Linked DNA regions of Homo sapiens: region 2 is linked to region 1. Evidence: promoter capture Hi-C in 16 types of primary human blood cells and fetal thymus (Javierre and others, 2016). All regions are on one chromosome and are shown on one strand. Each heading gives the region's core, a stretch centred on a gene start or on the middle of the fragment in contact. The rest is flanking DNA. Distances are from core to core; before and after follow the strand shown.

Evidence for each region. Contacts are between HindIII fragments. The CHiCAGO score rates a contact against its expected background, and 5 or more counts as called.
Region 2: a contact is called between a fragment that was not itself captured here and the fragment with the promoter of ARF6 in region 1, in 1 of 17 cell types (non-activated CD4 T cells). The highest score is 5.6, in non-activated CD4 T cells.

Annotation. Positions count from the first base shown.
Region 1 is chr14:49,891,498-49,895,003 of GRCh38, forward strand. It overlaps ARF6 (ARF GTPase 6), which reads left to right and starts at 1,585. Exons shown (of 2, transcript NM_001663.4): 1 at 1,585-1,660; 2 at 1,759-3,506. The coding sequence starts at 2,240. The coding sequence ends at 2,767. RefSeq lists enhancers at 1,145-1,244, 2,115-2,434, 2,465-2,514 and silencers at 1,335-1,724, 1,765-1,954. The HindIII fragment of the contact is 6,329 bases long and covers 1-3,506 here.
Region 2 is chr14:50,176,464-50,179,969 of GRCh38, forward strand. The region is part of intron 7 of SOS2 (SOS Ras/Rho guanine nucleotide exchange factor 2); the gene reads right to left. Among named protein-coding and RNA genes, the nearest start is that of SOS2, 53 kb to the right of the region's middle. The HindIII fragment of the contact is 5,834 bases long and covers 1-3,506 here.

The sequences.
Region 1 (3,506 bases), core at 335-2,834:
ATCTTAAGGTAAATGGAAAGTAAATGAAATAATTGTTAGAATATTAATGTTTAATAAGTTTATTTCCGACTGAAATGACGTTTATAAGGTTATCATATAACCTATCTACCATTATCTAATATTTTAAATTTGTTTAATAAAAACAGTATGTTACCATATGCTGTTTATAGCATCTTGCTTTTTAAACAAAGATACCCATTTCCTGTTTTTCTCCCCTTGATATTTGAAGGTTTCACGTTATTTTAAGTCTAATTTTATCATTAACCATTTGATACAAAAATGTGTCCTTGGCAGGGCGCAGTGGCTCACGCCTGTAATCCCAGCATTTTGGGGGGCCGAGGCGGGTGGATCACCTGAGGTCAGGACTTCGAGACCAGCCTGGCCAACATGGTGAAACCCCGTCTCTACTAAAAATACAAAAATTAGCCGGGCGTGGTGGTGGGCGACCTAATTCCAGCTGCTCCGGAGGCTAAGGCAGAACTGCTTGAACCCAGGATGAGGAGGCTGCAGTGAGCCGAGATTGTGCAACTGGACTCCAGCCTGGGCGACAGAGTGAGACCCCGTCTCAAGAAACAAACAAAAACCAAAAAACCAAAAATGTGCCCTGAAGTCTTCCACATTGTATTATTTAAGCCTCACGTGAGTTAGCAAGGTCAGTTTACACGAGATAAACTTAGTAAGGTTAAGTGCCCAGATCCAGGCCATACAAGCGGTCGTTCTATATTCTAAATTCTATGCTTCTTAAAGTTAAGAATGGGTAGTAGTTAAGAAGCTACTACTAACAGTATGAGATAAAATGATATTTTAAAGATGAACAGATGTCGCATTCTAAAAAGGTGAAAACGCGGCAAGGCACAGGAACTCTTCATAATACTGCAGTTTTTAAGAAACATGGGCTGGTCTTGACGAGACCTATAGGCAGACAGGGCTCAAACATTCAAAAGAGCTGCAGAGTAAACTCAACTCCGGGAAAGCGCTGCACTGACTGGCAGATTCCACACGAGACACTGGCCTCCCACGTGTCTTTCAGGAAACATACAAAATTCAAGGGATAAAGGAAGCCAAGAAGGGGTTGCGAAAAAGGGAAAAAAAAAAAAAACAAAAGCGAACAGAGCTTCCCTGGGACGTTCAGGGAGCGCGGAGGGTGCGGGAAGGCTGGGGCGGGCGGAGGGAATTCGCAGAGCATCTGGCGGGCACCGAGGTCTGGGAACAGGCCTGGAGGCAGCTCGGTTCGTGGAGAGAGCGGGCTGCCCGTGGGCCCCACCCTGTAGGGCCCCCCAGTAGATCTGCTCCCTTGGTTCGGGTGGGCAGGGGAGGGCAGAGCGCAAAAGAGAAAAGCAGGGAAGGAGACGCTAGAAGAGCCACGGGTAGGCGCGAGTCAGAGTCCGAGGTTCGAGGGCTCTGGGCCGGCCGCATCTGCGAGCCCTCCGAGGCGCCGTAGCCCCGCCCCTCCGGCGCGTGGCGCCCATGACGCTAGGCGCGCGGGCCGCTCTCCTTACAGAGGTCGCTCTTGTCCGAACGGTCGGCCTCTGCTGCGCCTGCGTGGTCGGGAGGGGAAGTGAGGCGGTTTCCTCGGCGCCTTTTCCGGCAGCGGCGGCGGCAGAACTGGGAGGAGGAGTTGGAGGCCGGAGGGAGCCCGCGCTCGGGGCGGCGGCTGGAGGTAACCCCTTGGGCCGAGCTGGAAAGGCGGGCCACCTCGGTCTTCGCTCCTTTGTGGAGCTCTGGCAGTAACTCCCCTCCCTCTCTGTTTCTCTGCAGGCAGCGCACCGAGTTCCCGCGAGGATCCATGACCTGACGGGGCCCCGGAGCCGCGCTGCCTCTCGGGTGTCCTGGGTCGGTGGGGAGCCCAGTGCTCGCAGGCCGGCGGGCGGGCCGGAGGGCTGCAGTCTCCCTCGCGGTGAGAGGAAGGCGGAGGAGCGGGAACCGCGGCGGCGCTCGCGCGGCGCCTGCGGGGGGAAGGGCAGTTCCGGGCCGGGCCGCGCCTCAGCAGGGCGGCGGCTCCCAGCGCAGTCTCAGGGCCCGGGTGGCGGCGGCGACTGGAGAAATCAAGTTGTGCGGTCGGTGATGCCCGAGTGAGCGGGGGGCCTGGGCCTCTGCCCTTAGGAGGCAACTCCCACGCAGGCCGCAAAGGCGCTCTCGCGGCCGAGAGGCTTCGTTTCGGTTTCGCGGCGGCGGCGGCGTTGTTGGCTGAGGGGACCCGGGACACCTGAATGCCCCCGGCCCCGGCTCCTCCGACGCGATGGGGAAGGTGCTATCCAAAATCTTCGGGAACAAGGAAATGCGGATCCTCATGTTGGGCCTGGACGCGGCCGGCAAGACAACAATCCTGTACAAGTTGAAGCTGGGCCAGTCGGTGACCACCATTCCCACTGTGGGTTTCAACGTGGAGACGGTGACTTACAAAAATGTCAAGTTCAACGTATGGGATGTGGGCGGCCAGGACAAGATCCGGCCGCTCTGGCGGCATTACTACACTGGGACCCAAGGTCTCATCTTCGTAGTGGACTGCGCCGACCGCGACCGCATCGATGAGGCTCGCCAGGAGCTGCACCGCATTATCAATGACCGGGAGATGAGGGACGCCATAATCCTCATCTTCGCCAACAAGCAGGACCTGCCCGATGCCATGAAACCCCACGAGATCCAGGAGAAACTGGGCCTGACCCGGATTCGGGACAGGAACTGGTATGTGCAGCCCTCCTGTGCCACCTCAGGGGACGGACTCTATGAGGGGCTCACATGGTTAACCTCTAACTACAAATCTTAATGAGCATTCTCCACCCATCCCCTGGAAGGAGAGAAATCAAAAACCCATTCATAGGATTATCGCCACCATCACCTCTTTCAATTGCCACTTTCTCTTCTTTTGAATTTGAACTCTGGAGTTACTGTTCTACAGTTTGGCGGGGACGGGGCTTGGGGGTTTTCTCTTTTGTTTGTTTCCCTTTCTTTTTCCTTTTTTTTTTTTTTTTTTTTTTGTTGGCTTTGCGTTAGGATGCTCTGATCTGACATTTGACATGAACACAAAGTTGCTAGATGCTCTTGTTGACTTCCAGCAGATGGGATGGGGGAAACACAGCAGTTCTTGGTAAAGTCCTTTGTAATAATAGTTTGATTTTTTTATTTCGAGAGAATCTTTCATTTTCCTATGTATGCTTTTTTCCTTTTTTGCCCAGTTTCCTTATCACTTGCTGTAGATGGCTTATTTTGCATTCATGCAGACTATGTTGCAAGTCTGTTTCATCTAGTAAACTGAAAATTATTGCTTAATCAAACTGCCGTTTGTCTTTTATATTTAAGGCCTTCCCCCCCCTTCCTTATGAGTTCTAACTTAGTAATTTCAAATGTGACCTTTTATATCTAAGACCAGTATAGTAAACTTAGCCCACAGTGGCAAATAATGAGTAATATTGTAATATGTTCCAGTTGCACCTCAGTATGTTAAACAGGTAATGTAAGAAGTTCTCTGAAATGTCAGCAAGTAAGTTCTGAAACACATCATGCAT
Region 2 (3,506 bases), core at 407-2,906, 290 kb after region 1:
TTTGTACTAAAATGCCTGATAAAGTGCATTCTAAAATTTTTGTAGCATGTATTTACAGTGTAAGGAGTCCTCTGATAATAACAGGAGCTACATTTGAGTATTTAATACACATCAAACATTATGCTTATGCTTTATATATACATTACCATTTAATTTCCTAATAACTATAAGAGGTATATATTATGATGATCACCATTTTACAAATGAGCAAACTGAGTCTCAGAGATTAAGTGAATTGCTCAAGGTAACACAACCATTAACTGGGGCTGGGCGTGATGGCTCACGCCTGTAATCCCAGCACTTTGGGAGGCTGAGTCAGGAGGATTACCTGAAGTCAAGAGTTTGAGAACAGCCTGGCCAACATGGGGAAACCCCATCTCTACTAAAAATACAAAAATTAGCCAGGTGTGGTGGCATGCGCCTGTAGTCCCAGCTACTTAGGAGGCTGAGGCAGGAGGACTCCTTAAACCCAAGAGGCAGAGGTTGCAGTGAGCCAAGATCGCGCCACTGCACTCCAGCCTGGGTGAAAGAGCGAGATTCCGCCGCAAACAAACAAACAAAACTATTAATTGGCCCAAAGCCTTAAGTTCTAACTTCAAATCTTATTTTTTTAAGTCTGCTACACAGTCCAGGTATGGTGCCTCATGGTCAACAGAACAGCCTAGCCAATATGGTGAAACTCTGTCTCTACCAAAAAAATACCAAAATTAGCCAGGCGTGGTGGTCCACACTTGTAGTCTCAGTCACTCAAGAGGCTAAGGCAGGAGAATCGCTTTAACCCGGGAGGCGGAGGTTGCAATGAACTGAGACTGTGCCACTGCACTCCAGCCTGGGCAACAGAGTGAGACCCTGTCTCTAAATAAATAAATAAATAAAGTACGCTACACAGCTTCTAAAGATGCTTTTTGTTTTTAGTTTTATTAAGGAAGCATTATTTTATCTTAAACTGAATGAATTTTTTTTTAAGTTAAAACAATTGAGTTTGGCCCGAAAAAGGATTTCATCTAACTCTTCCAATTTCACTGAATATCTAGGATGACAGCTTTATTAATAACTGGGCCCTTTAACATTCAAATTCCACAGCAAAAATTCCTAATAAAATAGGACTGAAACAAGAAATGTGTTGAGTGCTTTTAATGAGTATCCAAAGTTCTTATAGACTGTGTATTTAATGCATACTTTATATGAATATATGAGTTAACTTTAAAAATATTCCTCTCTTGAAGTAATTTTGAGAATTAAGTATAATTTGTATTCCATGATAACAAATTTTTGACAATAGAGAAGTGGAAGATAATAAACAATGGGAATTTATAGTACAGAAGGCAGGGAGAAGATGGTAAGTTCAGTTTTAAACATGTCATATTTGAAGTGCGTTTAGGGTATCCAAGTGCATCAATTCAAGGCAGCTGGTTATATGAAAGTGTATAGATACATACACATATGTACACGGTACACAGTGCTTAAAAGAAAGTGATGGCCTGGAAATACAAATAAGAAGTCACCAGTATATAGACATGAAGTCACCCAAGGAGAGCACAGAACAGAAAAACAGGGGCTGATAACAGAAGTTGGATAATAGCTATAATAATTAAGAGACTTAGAAGAAGAAATCAGAGAAGACGAAAATTGGGAACATGTAGTATCACAGGAGCTGATATGGTTTGATTTTGTGTCCCCGTCCAAATCTCATGTTCAACTGTAATCCCCAATTTTGGAGGTGGGGCCTAGTGGGAGGTAACTGGATCATGGGGGTGGATTTCTTCCTTTAATGCTGTTCTTGTAATAGAGTTCTCAGGAGATCTAGTTGTTTAAAAGTGTGTGGCACCTCCCTGCTCCTTCCTCTTGCTTTGACCATGTGAAGACGTGCCTGCTTCCCTTTTGGCTTCCGCCATGATCGTAAGTTTCCTGAGGCCTCCCCAGCCGTGCTTCCTGTAGAGCCTGTGGAACTCTGAGCCAATTAAATCTCTTTTCTTTATAAATCACCCAGTCTCAGTCTTCTTTTTCTTTTTTTTGTTGAGACAGAGTCTCACTCTGTAGCCCAGGCTTGAGTGCAGTGTTGCAATCTCGGCTCACTGCAACCCCCACCTCCTGGGTTCAAGTGATCCTCCTGCCTCCAAGTGATCCTCCTGCCTCTGCCTCTGTAGTAGCTAGAACTACAGGTGTGCACCACCATGCCCGCTAGTGTGTGTGTGTGTGTGTGTGTGCATATATATATATATATATATATATATATATATATATATATACACACATATACACACACATATATATATATATATTTTTTGGAGACAGGGTCTTGCTCTGTCACCTAGGCTGGAGTGTAGTGGCACGATCTCGGCTCACTGCAACCTCCGCCTCCCGGGTTCAAGCAATTCTCCTGCCTCAGCCTCCCGAGTAGCTGGGATTACAGGTGCATGCCACCACACCCAGCTAATTTTTGCATTTTTTAGTAGAGACAGGGTTTCGCCAGGCTGGCAAGGCTGGTCTGGAACTCCTGACCTCAGGTGATCCGATCCACCCACCTCAGCCTCCCAAAGTGCTGGGATTACAGGCATGAGACATCACGCCCAGCCTTCAGGTATACAGGAACCAAGAGATAAGAGCAGTAACAAATACTACAGACATTAAGTATGAAATAAAAATATCCACTGGATTTGGCAATTAAGTTACTTGTCAAAGGCAATTTATATCCTGATTAAAACATACATGGTAGTGTTTTCATAAAGAATGGTAAAAAATAATATAAAGACAATTGGCTGCAAAGAAAAAATGAGAGAGGAAATGAAAAAACTTTCTTCACTCTAGTTAATTATTCTACTAGAGTGAAGAAAGGTTTGTTCATTTGTTTGCTTGTTTGTTTCAGGACTATAAGGATTTTTACCATATTCAAACGTCAAGGGGTAAAAGCCAGTTTATTTTTTATTTTTATTTTTTTTGAGACTGGGTCTCACTCTGTACCCAAGGCTGGAGTGCAGTGGCGTGATCATGACTCATTGCAGCCTTGACCTCCCAGGCTCAAGCAATTCTCCTGGCATGCCACAGGTGCACGCCACCACACTCGGCTAAGTTTTTATATTTTGTAGAGATGAGGTCTCCCTATTTTGCCCAGGCTGGTCTCAAACACCTGGGTCCAAGCAATCCTCTGACCTTAGCCTCCCAAAGTGCTGGGATTATAGGCAAGAGCCACCACGTCTGGCTGGAAAAGTCAGTTTAGATGTAGAAGTTTTACATATTTAGCCAAGTATTACCTATGCCAACATAACTTTTGTTGTTAGTGTTGAGATAGTAAAAATAAAATTTTATTTGTATCTCTCCACTTATTTTCATTTTATCTAAGTGTATTCCTGAACCAACTAACTTGCATACTCTCCCTCAATACAGTATTTATCTCCTTTAAATTGTAGGCCTCATAGAAAAATCAGTATGAGTACATAGGAGGTTGAGGTTATCTCAACTTTTTAAGATTTCTCCAAATCTTCCTCCTATAGGGAACATAATCCTGA